Regions from separate parts of the Homo sapiens genome. Here region 2 is linked to region 1. The links are contacts of gene promoters, found by promoter capture Hi-C in blood cells and fetal thymus (Javierre and others, 2016). All regions are on one chromosome and are shown on one strand. Each heading gives the region's core, a stretch centred on a gene start or on the middle of the fragment in contact. The rest is flanking DNA. Distances are from core to core; before and after follow the strand shown. Region 1 holds the start of KIAA1614. Region 2 has its middle 6.2 kb from the start of LINC01732.

Region 1 (5,511 bases), core at 1,123-3,622:
CCCCTGATGCACAAGCCACAGGACCACAGCATGGGGTTGAGCTCAAAGGGAGACCTTGACCAGTCAGGAACGCCGATTAGGCATCTGCTCTATGCCAGGCGGGACTGCAAGTGCTTTCAAACACACTCCCCCCAATAATCCTGTCCCTAACACAATGGCATTATTGACCAGGAGCGGTGGCTCACACCTGTAATCCCAGCATTTTGGGAGGCTGAGGCGGGTGGATCACTTGAGGTCAGGAGCTCGAGACCAGCCTGGCCAACATGGTGAAACCCCCTCCTCCATTAAAAATACAAAAAATTGGCTAGGCGCGGTGGCTCACACCTGTAATCCCAGCACTTTGGGAGGCCGAGGCGGGTGGATCCTGAGGTCAGGAGTGCTGCTCACCTGTAGTCCCAGCTACTCAGGAGGCTGAGGCAAGGTAATTGCTTGAACTCGGGAGGCAGAGGTTGCAGTGAGCCAAGATTGCACCACTGCACTCCAGCCTGGGCGACAGAGCAAGACTCTGTCTCAAAAATAAAAAAAATAAATAAAAATAAAAAATACAAAAAATTAGCTGGGTGTGGTGGCAGGTGCCTGTAGTCCCAGCTACTTGGGAGGCAGAGGCAGGAGAATCACTTGAACCCAGAAGGCGGAGGTTACAGTGAGGCGAGATCCCGCCACTGCACTCCAGCCTGGGCGATAGAGCGAGACTCTGTCTCAAAAAAAAGAAAAGAAAAGAAAAGAAAGAATGGCTTTATTATATACTTCTACAGATGGAGAAACTGAGGCACAGATTACAATACACAGGTGCTAAGAGGAGGCCCAGTTTGGAAACCAAAGCTTCTCATTCCAAGCCCAGGCCTTTTCCAAAACATGTAGTGATCACTTAACCCTACTCCCCTTATTCTGTAAATGATAATGTTCCATCCCCAGAGGCTAGGTGGCTTGTCAGCGCTGCACAGATCCTTAGCAGCATGGCTGATGTTTATCCCTTCACAAGGAATGAAGGTGAGCAGGGGTTTGACTCAGGGTGTTGCATGCATATCTACATGCCACAGCGTTTTAATATTGATTCTACCTTCTGAGAAAAATACAACTTTAATATCACACATCTAGATGTCCCCCCCCCCTTGAAGTAAACTTTGTGCATAAAAATCCTTATGTGTATACACTACAAATTAGGAGTTATCCACTTCGTAACACGGACCAAGTATTCACCATAAAATTCTCTTAAATGGCAAGTCTCTCTGTAGTCGTTTATTACAATTCAATTTATACACAAGCTTTCAGGAATGCACATATTTTATAAAGCAAAATACACATATAATGCGAAATGTCACACCAGTTTTAAGCCAGTAAAGTTTAAGGATTATCTTTAGGAGGACAGAAATAATTTGTTCTATGAGTTAATCTAGAATGCAGCAAGTTTCTCTTTGCATCTCCTTCTTCTCCTCTAAAGTCCAATCCAGAAAACAGGGGATTAGAATGTAATATGAGCAATTTCTGTTAAGTTAAAATAACTTTTTGTTTTTGGGGAGGCTGAAGCCAGAGGAGGCCGGGCTTGAGCCCGGGAGGTCGAGGTTGCAGTGAGCCATGATCGCACCACTGCACTCCAGCCTGGGCGACAGAGCGAGACCCTGGCTCCAAAAAATTAAAGTAAGAATTGTTGATGGGTAAACTCTGGAACAGCACGCCAGAGACCTTAAAGAATGAGACCCTCCCACTGGAGTCCCCTGGGCACGGGCTTTCGGGAAGATCGGTCAGCTCGGAGCTGCCTGGTTCTATGGCCCAAGCACTGTGATGTATTTCCCCTAACTCAGAGGGGCCAAACGAAGATGGACGTGAAGGGCGGGCCTCCCCACGACCCTTCCAGCTCCGAGCCCGTGGGAGGCCCGCTTCCCAGTGGCCGGGGCGACCTGGGCTCCCCGCTCCTCCGCCCCGCCGGTCCGCCACCCCCGCCCGGCCGGCCCGGCGCTGCCTCCTCTATACTCACTGGGGGCTGCCGCCCGCGGGTTTGGCCGCCGCCGCCTCTGTCCCCTCCATCCCTCGGAGAGGCCAGGCCCTCTCCAGCCCCTTCTCCCTCCCAGGCCAGCTGCTGGGTTCGGGGAGGGACTTCCAGCCCCGAATCCGGGGCCGGAGGGAGTGCGGCCCGCAGGCCTCGCCCCTCGGGGCGCGGCCGACTGGGGGTCCGGGACGGCGCCGAGGCCGGGCCAGCTCCCGGCTCTGCTGGCAGCCCCCGGGCCCCGGGTGGGTCTGGCCGGCGCAGCGCCCCACGGGCCGCACTCCCTCCCGGCGAGAGGACGGGAAGCGGGGTCGGGCAGGGAGGGCGCTGGCAGGGAAGGAAGTGGCATCAGCTGTCCGTTCACGGCTTTGCCGTGGAGGGGAAGAGCGGCCAAGCCCGCGCCTTCCCGGCCCGCGCTGGGCAGAGGGAGCCGAGCGCGGAGAGGTGGGGCCGCGGGAGGGGCTGGAGGAGCCGGGCCTCGGCCTCCCACCCCGCCCGGAGCCCCGCGGGGCCGCCTCTCCTGAGCCGCGGCCCAGGGAGCGAGTGTCCCCGGCCGTCAGAGGCGCGGGATGGAAGTCCAGGGCGGCCCCGAGCTTGGGGACGACGGGGCGGCCGCCAGCCTCGCAGGGCGGTGGCCCCTTCCCCGCGGGAAAGCGGGCGCAAGAGCGGAGGCGCGCGGGGCGCACGGAGGCCGGGGAGCGCGGGCAGGAGCTGGGGGCGCACCACGTTCTCGGCGGGCTCCGCGCGCCGCTGGTAACCCTACACCCAGGGCTCGCCTTTCGGGGTGGAAGCTGAGGAATGCCTTTTGTGTGGACAAGTTTTCCAGAGGAGCCGGCCGCCCTCTCTGTGGGGCCGTCCATCGCTCCGTAGAGCCGTTTCCTCCGAGGTCAAGGTCGTTGGTTCCCGCTCTCCAGAGGCGTGAGGGAAACCCGGAGGGAACGCGCTCCGCGCATCCCGTCTGCCGCGGTGCCGGAATTGCCCGCCGCCGCCTTGGGTGGGGACCGGTTCTCAGGGTCCTGGGGGCTCTCGAGCAGATCACTTTCCCCAGCGCGGGACGGGGGTCGCAACCAGGGGCATTCCCTGCAGCCGCGGCCCAAACCGACGGAGCTTGCTTTCTCCTTCCACCCAGAGGGGGTGACCGAGCCTCACCTATTTCCAAGCCTATTTTTTCACAAAGACGGGAAGCAATAAAAGTGGCCTCAGGAGATTCCGGAAATCTCTACAAAGAGAAAGTGCCCGTTCATCTTTCCTTCAGCCGACTGGCTTCACTGTGAAGCATGGGGTAGTTGTGCACCTCCAGATGACAGGACAGACACAGCAACAGTAAGGGCCGCGCAATATGTACCGGGGCAGGGGAGGAGGGGAAGGAAGTTTTCTAGAGGGGCTGCCTCTTGAGTCAGGAGGGGGTTACTCTGCACAAGGTGGGGGAAGGGGCGTCTGGCAGGGCAACAGGAGAGCGGAGCCTGGGGAGCTGTGAGTGGACTGGCGTCTTGGCAATCTAGGAGCTTGAGAGATTATCCAGTGCAAACCCTCTGTGTCACAGTACAGGCCCAAGGTTACGTCAGAGGCTTCGAACCAGAGCGACTCCATCTTGTGTGAGGGCGAGGAAAATGAGGCTGGGACTTGCTGGGCCACATTCCCAGTGAGTTAGCTATACCCAGCTTCTAGATATTTACGGTTAAGAGAACAAATTAATAACGTTTGCTAAACAGACCCAGACTTAGGAGTGTCCTGATATCCTGATATCTTGAGAACAGACTCATTTGTAATTATGCTTTAAAGTTAATAATATCGATTATTGCAAAATATAGTAACTAAGAAAATTAATCCTTTATCACAAACCCTTGTAGCACAGCACATCTCCCCATGATCCTTTTTTATCCTGTGTAAGCGAGTATTGTACCCAGGGTGGATGCGTTCCTCCTCGTACTTTCCAGAACTCCCTCCTCTGTCTATGGAGTAGCTGTACTTTCACCACTTTACTTTCTTACTAAACTTGCTTTTGCTTTGCACTGTGAACGCACCTTGCTTTTTTTTTTTTTTTTTTTTTTTTGAGACAGAGTCTTGCTCTGTTGCCCAGGCTGGAGGGCAGTGGGGCGATGGATTCTCCCACCTCAGCCTCCTGAGTAGCTGGGGCTATAGACATGCACCACCACGCCTGGCTACTTTTTGTATTTTTAGTAGAGATGGGGTTTCACCATGTTGCCCAGGATGGTCTCGAACTCCTGGCCTCAAGTGATCCACCTGCCTCGGCCTCCCAAAGTTTGGGATTACAGGCATGAGCCACCACGCCCAGCCTTGCCCTGAATTCTTTCTTGCGAGAGATGCAAGAACCCTTTCTTGTGGTCTGGATTGGGACACCTCTCCTGTAGCAGTTACACAGCTCTGGTGACAGGTGGTCTCCAGGGTCCTGGGTGGCCTCTTCCCTCCCCGAAACTCACCATGTTCCCAGAACAAGAAGTTCCTTTAACAAAGCATTGACTGCTTTTGCTTTTTAGTATTGATCGCTTCACAGAGTGGTGCCTGCACTATTTGCAGTGGGCATACTGGCACCAGGCATTGGCTAAGCAGTTTAAATTCATTATCTCGTATTTCAGCCTTAAGAAGTAGGCAGTGGCTATTGTCTCCTTTTCTTTTTTTTTTTTTTTTTTTTTTTTTGAGACGGAGTCTCGCTCTTTCACCCAGGCTGGAGTGCTGTGGCGCTATCTCGGCTCACTGCAAGCTCCGCCTCCCAGGTTCACGCCATTCTCCTGCCTCGGCCTCCCAAGTAGCTGGGAATACAGGTGCCCACCACCGTGCCTGGCTAATTTTTTGTATTTTTAGTATAGATGGGGTTTCACCGTGTTAGCCTTGATGGCATCGATCTCCTGACCTCATGATCTGCCCGCCTGGGCCTCCCAAAGTGCTGGGATTACAAGTGTGAGCCACCACGCCTGGCCTATTGTCTCCTTTCTATAGACACTGAGTGTAAGTGAACGCCCCAGGATCCACAGCTGGGTAAGCTGTAGTCCAGCCTCCTAGAGTCCAGGCCCTCATGCCAGTACACTGCACAGTGCTGTCGCCAGCATCTGCCTGTTCAACATGGAAAGATTTAGTTTAAAAAAAAATCAAAAGATTTGTGAAAAAAATCATGAAGTGCTGTGATACTGAAAATGTGCTGGCACAGTGGCTTGGCCCTTCCTGGCTTTCTTATTCCTGCCGTCTAAGTTAAAAGCCCCTCAAGACTCCTTCTTCTCCTGCATGCCCAGTGTTAAGCCTGACAGCAGCAACACTGTTACTATTATTGGGGGCATCCTATGAGCTAAGGTACCCCACATAGGATCTTTTGCATCTTTACAACAACCATGCAAAATAGGTATAGTGTATCTCCACTTTAGTGATAAAGAAATCGAGCTGCAGAGAGGTTAAGTAGCTTGCCCAAGGCCACACAGCTAGTATAGCTAGAATCTGAACCCAGCTCTGTCTGGTTCCAAGATTTTCTGCCTTGCTTCCTCTTTTATAGAGGCACCTCTGAATTCAGACTCCAC
Region 2 (5,511 bases), core at 802-3,301, 260 kb before region 1:
AAAGAATTGGTTAGGCAGTGCATTCATTTCCTAGGGCTGCCATAACAAACTGCCACATACCAGGTGACTTAAAAAAACAGAAATCTATTGTCTCACAGCTCTAGAGGCCTAAAGTCTAAGACCACGTTGCCCTCAGAAAGGAGCTGTTCCAGGCCTCCCTACAGGCTTCTGGTAGCCTCAGGCATAGATGCCTCGCTCTTCACAGGGTGTTGCCTCTTCACAGGGTGTTGTCTTCACAACATCTTCCCTGTGTGTGCGTTTGTCTCTGTGTCTAAATTTCCCCTTTTCATAAGGACACTACTCATATTGATTAAGGCCCACCCTAATGAACTTATTTTAACTTGATTATCTTTGTGAAGACCCTATTTCCAAATAAGGTCACGTTCTGAGGTACTGGAGGTTAGGACTTCAACATATCTTTCTGTGGGGACACAGTTCAAGGGTTGGTAAACGTTTCAAGGGTTGGACACAGGAAAGGGTTGGTAAACATTTTCTGGAAAAAGCCAGATAGTAATATTTTAGACTTGTGAGCCACTGTCTCTGTCACAGCTACGCACTTCTGCTGTGGCAGCCTGAAAGCAGCCATAGACAATACATAAATGAATAAGCCTGGCTTGTTCCAATAAAACTTTATTTATAACAATAAGTTGTGGGCTAGATGTGGTTGGCAGGCCATAGTCTGCCAATCCCTAGGTTAGAACACCAATTTTAAAACAAGGAAAAAGAGTTTCTGCAGCCTTTCTGAAAGAGGGGACTCAGTCAGGGAACCAGAGATTCGGAGCAAAATCTGAGTCCCCAGAAGTGCTAAGAGGGGAGTCAAGGAAACTCCTGGGGTTTAAGAACGTGGACTCAAAATGCGGGAGGAAGACAGGGCACCCTGGAGGAGTTCCACAGAAGGCCCTTGGCTTGCCCACAGGCACTAAAGGCTGATCTTACAGCTGAGGAAACTGAGGCACCAAACGATCAAGTGACTTGCCAAAAGACACAGCTAGTAGAGGAAGGATTCCATCCCAATCAATGTGATTCCAGGGGCTGAGCTTGTAACCACTAGCAATTACTCCAGAGGACAAAGAAACAACAGAGGATCAGGCACTGGGAGCTGGGTGTCTCAGGCCGAGTTCTTCAGGGGTTGGAGTCACAAGGGTGGAACACAAGGGGGCCAGGGAGTTAGAAAGGGCCAGTAGAAAGCAGCAGCGTGTCAGTCATTAGAATGTGCGGGCATCAGCCTTGCTGTCTAAACATCATCAGGAGGGTCTTTACCAATACCCCCCACGGAACAAAGCTATAACACCTCTCCCGCAGAAGCAGTGGAGATGGGCGCTCTTACTCTGAGTTAACAAAGGTCTTATGAGTTGTGTTCAACATAAACTAATAAATACATACTCAGGGAATCAGTTCACCAGGATTGTAAAGAAATAAAAATAGAAACAAGGTCAGGTACTAATGGGAAGATGCTAATTGTGCTCTGTCATGGAACCTCACCCTTGTTGGCCTGTCATCTTCACACTTCATTGAAAATCCATTAAAACGATTGTGAGGCCATTAACCCTGACTTTCAGGCAGAAGCTTCCCTTGGGCGCAGTTGTGTGACTAGGGTTCTTTCATTAATATTTAGTGTAATTGCTTGAGAGCCGGATAATTGTGATTACAGACTGCCACTTAAATATGGAAGGGGAGCATGAAGATGGGATCTTTTCTTTGCATCTTTTTTATTTTTAATATGTGTGGAATCATCTCCCTCAGGCAAGATAATATATTAAAACTTGAATTTTTAAAACAAAGAGAGGGCTGATTACTCGGTCTACAAAAGAATTCACCACAGGATTCCTTAAATTGTGAGCTCCCAGAGCAATCAAAATTATTTGATTTACAAAATTTCAATCTGCTGGCATCTTTTCCATATTATGACTCTACCATAAAGGTTATATTTGAAAAAAGAAACACAGCTACTAATGAGTGCCGTAGAGGCTGCTGAGTGGAGAATTAAGGCCTGCATTTATAAACAGGGTGACCAGAAGACATACCTTAAGGACACCTTGAAATTCAGCCTTGATGCCTGGGATAGGACTGTGACTTGCTAGGACATGCAGTCAGACAGATGAACCAAGGGGGACACCAATTAGAGATGAGAGGACCCTGAGACCAGTCTGCAACTTGGAGCAACTGCAAGAAGATGCTCCTTCCAGAGTACAGAGGGGAAAACTGCTGCTCCCAAAAAAGATTCTTCCCCCTCTGTCCCTCAGCCCCATGAAATGGGACAAACTGATCCAGTACCACCTCAGATTTAGGCCTGTTAAAAGCCTGGGAGGATATTAACGACCTTCCCCATAAAACAGTGGCTTTCTCTTCTTATATTTTATCAGCTTCCATTGCTCTGCATTTAAAAGGAGGCACACAAAATTGCAATGCCATCCTCCAAGGTGTGTGGCAACAGCCAAGGTGAGTGGAACAAACGTGAACAATGTTTCTTCTGCTCTCACACCACCAACAACATCAATACAGAAGACTTTTGGCCGGGCTCAGTGGCTCAAGCTTATAATCCCAGCACTTTGGGAGGCCAAGCCAAGCAGATAGCTTGAGGCCAGGAGTTCGAGACCAACCTGGCCAACATGGTAAGAACCCCTTCTCTATTAAAAATACAAAAATGAGCCAGCTGTGGTGGTACACACCTGTAATCCCAGCAACTTGGGTGACTGAGGCATGAGAATTGCTTGAATCCAGGAGGCGGAGGTTGCACCACTGCATTCCAGCCTGGGTGACAGAGCAAGACTCTGTCTCAAAAAACAACAGACTTCTGTGACCAAATACTCGGTGGTTTTACCCCACCAACATGCAAGCAATCAATTCAGCAGCAGACGTGAGCTGCAGGGGTATCTTCCAATTCAATTCGGACACTGTCTACCTGGAGATAGCATCAGATCCCACAGGTTGAGGGCTCAGTCCCACAAGAATGCCTCCCTCTTCCTCCAGACACCAGTCACAGATCCTCAAGCTGGGCTTTCCACATTTCTTTAGGTTTGATTAATTTGCCAGAGTGGCTTACAGAACTCAGGGAAACATGTTTACCAGATTATGAAGGATATTACAAAGAATATAAACAAAGAGAGGCATAGGGCAAGGTATGGGGGAAGAAGCATGGAGCTTCCATACCTTCCCTGAGCACGCCACCCTCCAAGAACCTCCACGTGTTCGGCTATCCGGAAGTTCTCCGAACACTGTCTCTTTGGGTTTTTATGGAAGCTTCATTATGAGGCATGATTGATAAAGCCACTGGCCATTGGTGATCAACTTAAACTTCAGCTCCTCTCCCCTCCCCGGAGATTGCAAGAGCAAGGACGGAGTTTGGAAACCACCGCCCTTGACCTTTGCTGTCCAAAGCAGTAGCCACTAGTCCCATGTGGCTACCCACAATTGCAGTGAGGCTGGTCTGAACTGAGGTGTGCTATAAGTGTAAAATTCATACCAGATTTCAAAAACTTATCAAGAAAAGAATATACAATATCTGGTGAGTAATTTTTACATTGATTACATGTTGAAATGATAATATTTTAGATATATTCGGTTAAATAAATTATATCATTAAAATGAATTTAACATGTTTTTTATTTTTTAATGCGGCAACTAGAAAATTTTAAGTTACTATGTGGCTCATGTTATATTTCTGGGTTTTTTTTGTTTTTTTGTTTTTTTTGGAGATGGAGTCTCATCACCCAGACTGGAGTACAGTGGCACAATCACGGCTCACTGCAGCCTCAACCTCCCAGGCTCAAGTGATCCTCCTGCCTCAGACTCCCGAGTAGCTGGAACTACAGATGTGCACCACTACCGCTGGCTAATTTTTTTATTTTTTGTAGAGACAGGGTCTCGCTATGTTGCCCAGGCTGGTCTTAAACTGCTGGGCTCAAGCAATTCTCCTTCCTTACGCTCCCAAAGTGCTGGGATTACAGGCATGAGCCACCATGCCTGGCCTCAGCCCTGTGTGATATTTCTATGGGACAGTGGTGCTTAAATGATCAACTTCAATGGGAGAATGTGTGTACCTCTACATACAGAGGTAGATATATAGTTTCTGATTATATAAATAAATATAATATATTTGGCTTTGAAAGACCAAATAAACAGGACTTGAACTTTTTTTTCCATGAATGGTAGGAAAGTTATGACTATGAGAACCTTAATGTTTGCTATGAACGGCTTGGGGTGGCTTTACTCACTGTTCCAGACTACAGAGTTGATGCCTGGGTTGACCACTAGAGAGCAGTGGCGTATATAAAATGTGAGCGTTCACACAGCCATTAACTGTGAAGACACTCCGCCCAGCCCACATGCAGAGCCACTACAGGGTCGGCACTAGGTAATGATTAAAACCCATGCTCTTTCCCTCCCTTTTAAGTGCCATATGCCTGGGGAAGAAGAAAAGACTACAGAAAACTGGGTAGAACTAGAGCTGACCCTTAAACTGTGAGGCTCAGACAGCAGCAAAGCAGGAAGGCCATTCTGCGTGAAAAACATCAGATGTTCAAAGGCAAGTGTTCAAAGACCCAGGCGCGGAGTCACGTTTACCTTCCTGGCTCCGAGGCTATCAAAATGCGGGGCCTGAAGCAAGCCACTGGGCCTTGCTTCTGTAAGATGAGGTAGAGCTAGGTGAGCTTTAACATGTCCTCCAACGTCAGCATTGCAGCCATTCCAGAGTGAACCCCGCGGGCCTGCTGTTCCAATAGGTTTAATGGGGGACACAAACACCTTCCAGGCACAATGGTACTGTAAATCCATGCTTTAAGTGCCCCCCACCACTCCAAACACCTAGCAATAATACATAAGATATAAAAATTTTAAAAATGAAAGTCCAAGCCTTGCTCCGGAAGATCAGCATCTTGGCCGGGCGCAGTGGCTCACGCATGTAATCCCATCCCTTTGGGAGGCTGCTGCAGGTGGATCACCTAAGGTCAGGAGTTCGAGACCAGCCTAGGCAATATGGTGAAACCCTGTCTCTACTAAAAATATAAAAATTAGCTGGGCGTGGTGGCAAGTTCATGTACTGCCAGCTGCTCAGGAGGCTGAGGCATGAGAATCGCTTGAGCCCAGGAGGTTGCGGTGAGCCGAGATCACGCCATTGCATTCCAGGAAAAAAAAAAAAAAAAAAGATCAGCATCTCCAAGGATCAGAGAAACACAGAAATACAATTCTACAGCAGAAATGGTGCTATAGGTTCTCCAGGTCACCACTCAGGCAGAGGTGGCCAGGAGCTTTTCTCTTCTCTTGTGGTAAAAGGGGAACTATACATGGCCAGGGGTTCCCAGTCCAGAAACTGGGTGGGGCTTTCACACCCAAGAACCAGGAATATAAAATGCTGGGGCTGAGACTTATACAAAGCTTCTTATCCCAGTTGAAGAGGAACCTTGCCAAAGAGGTCCCCTGGCTCAGTGTTGGGATCAGCAACGTCCCCAAATCATGGCAGTATGGATACCTGAGCTGACAATTGAAAATCTGGTTCTGAATTGGGGGCTGCGA

What was found. The method cuts DNA at HindIII sites, captures the fragments that hold promoters and counts their contacts. A CHiCAGO score of 5 or more calls a contact.
Region 2: a contact is called between a fragment that was not itself captured here and the fragment with the promoter of KIAA1614 in region 1, in 10 of 17 cell types (megakaryocytes, fetal thymus, erythroblasts and 7 more). The highest score is 16.4, in megakaryocytes.

Annotation. Positions count from the first base shown.
Region 1 is chr1:180,909,758-180,915,268 of GRCh38, reverse strand. It overlaps KIAA1614, which reads right to left and starts at 2,372. Exons shown (of 9, transcript NM_020950.2): 1 at 1,976-2,372. The coding sequence starts at 2,025. It overlaps LINC02816 (long intergenic non-protein coding RNA 2816), which reads right to left. Exons shown (of 4, transcript NR_185877.1): 4 at 1,213-5,511. RefSeq lists a silencer at 2,277-2,576. The HindIII fragment of the contact is 8,183 bases long and covers 1,268-5,511 here.
Region 2 is chr1:181,165,509-181,171,019 of GRCh38, reverse strand. No RefSeq gene overlaps it. Among named protein-coding and RNA genes, the nearest start is that of LINC01732, 6.2 kb to the left of the region's middle. RefSeq lists silencers at 4,159-4,228, 4,239-4,288. The HindIII fragment of the contact is 966 bases long and covers 1,569-2,534 here.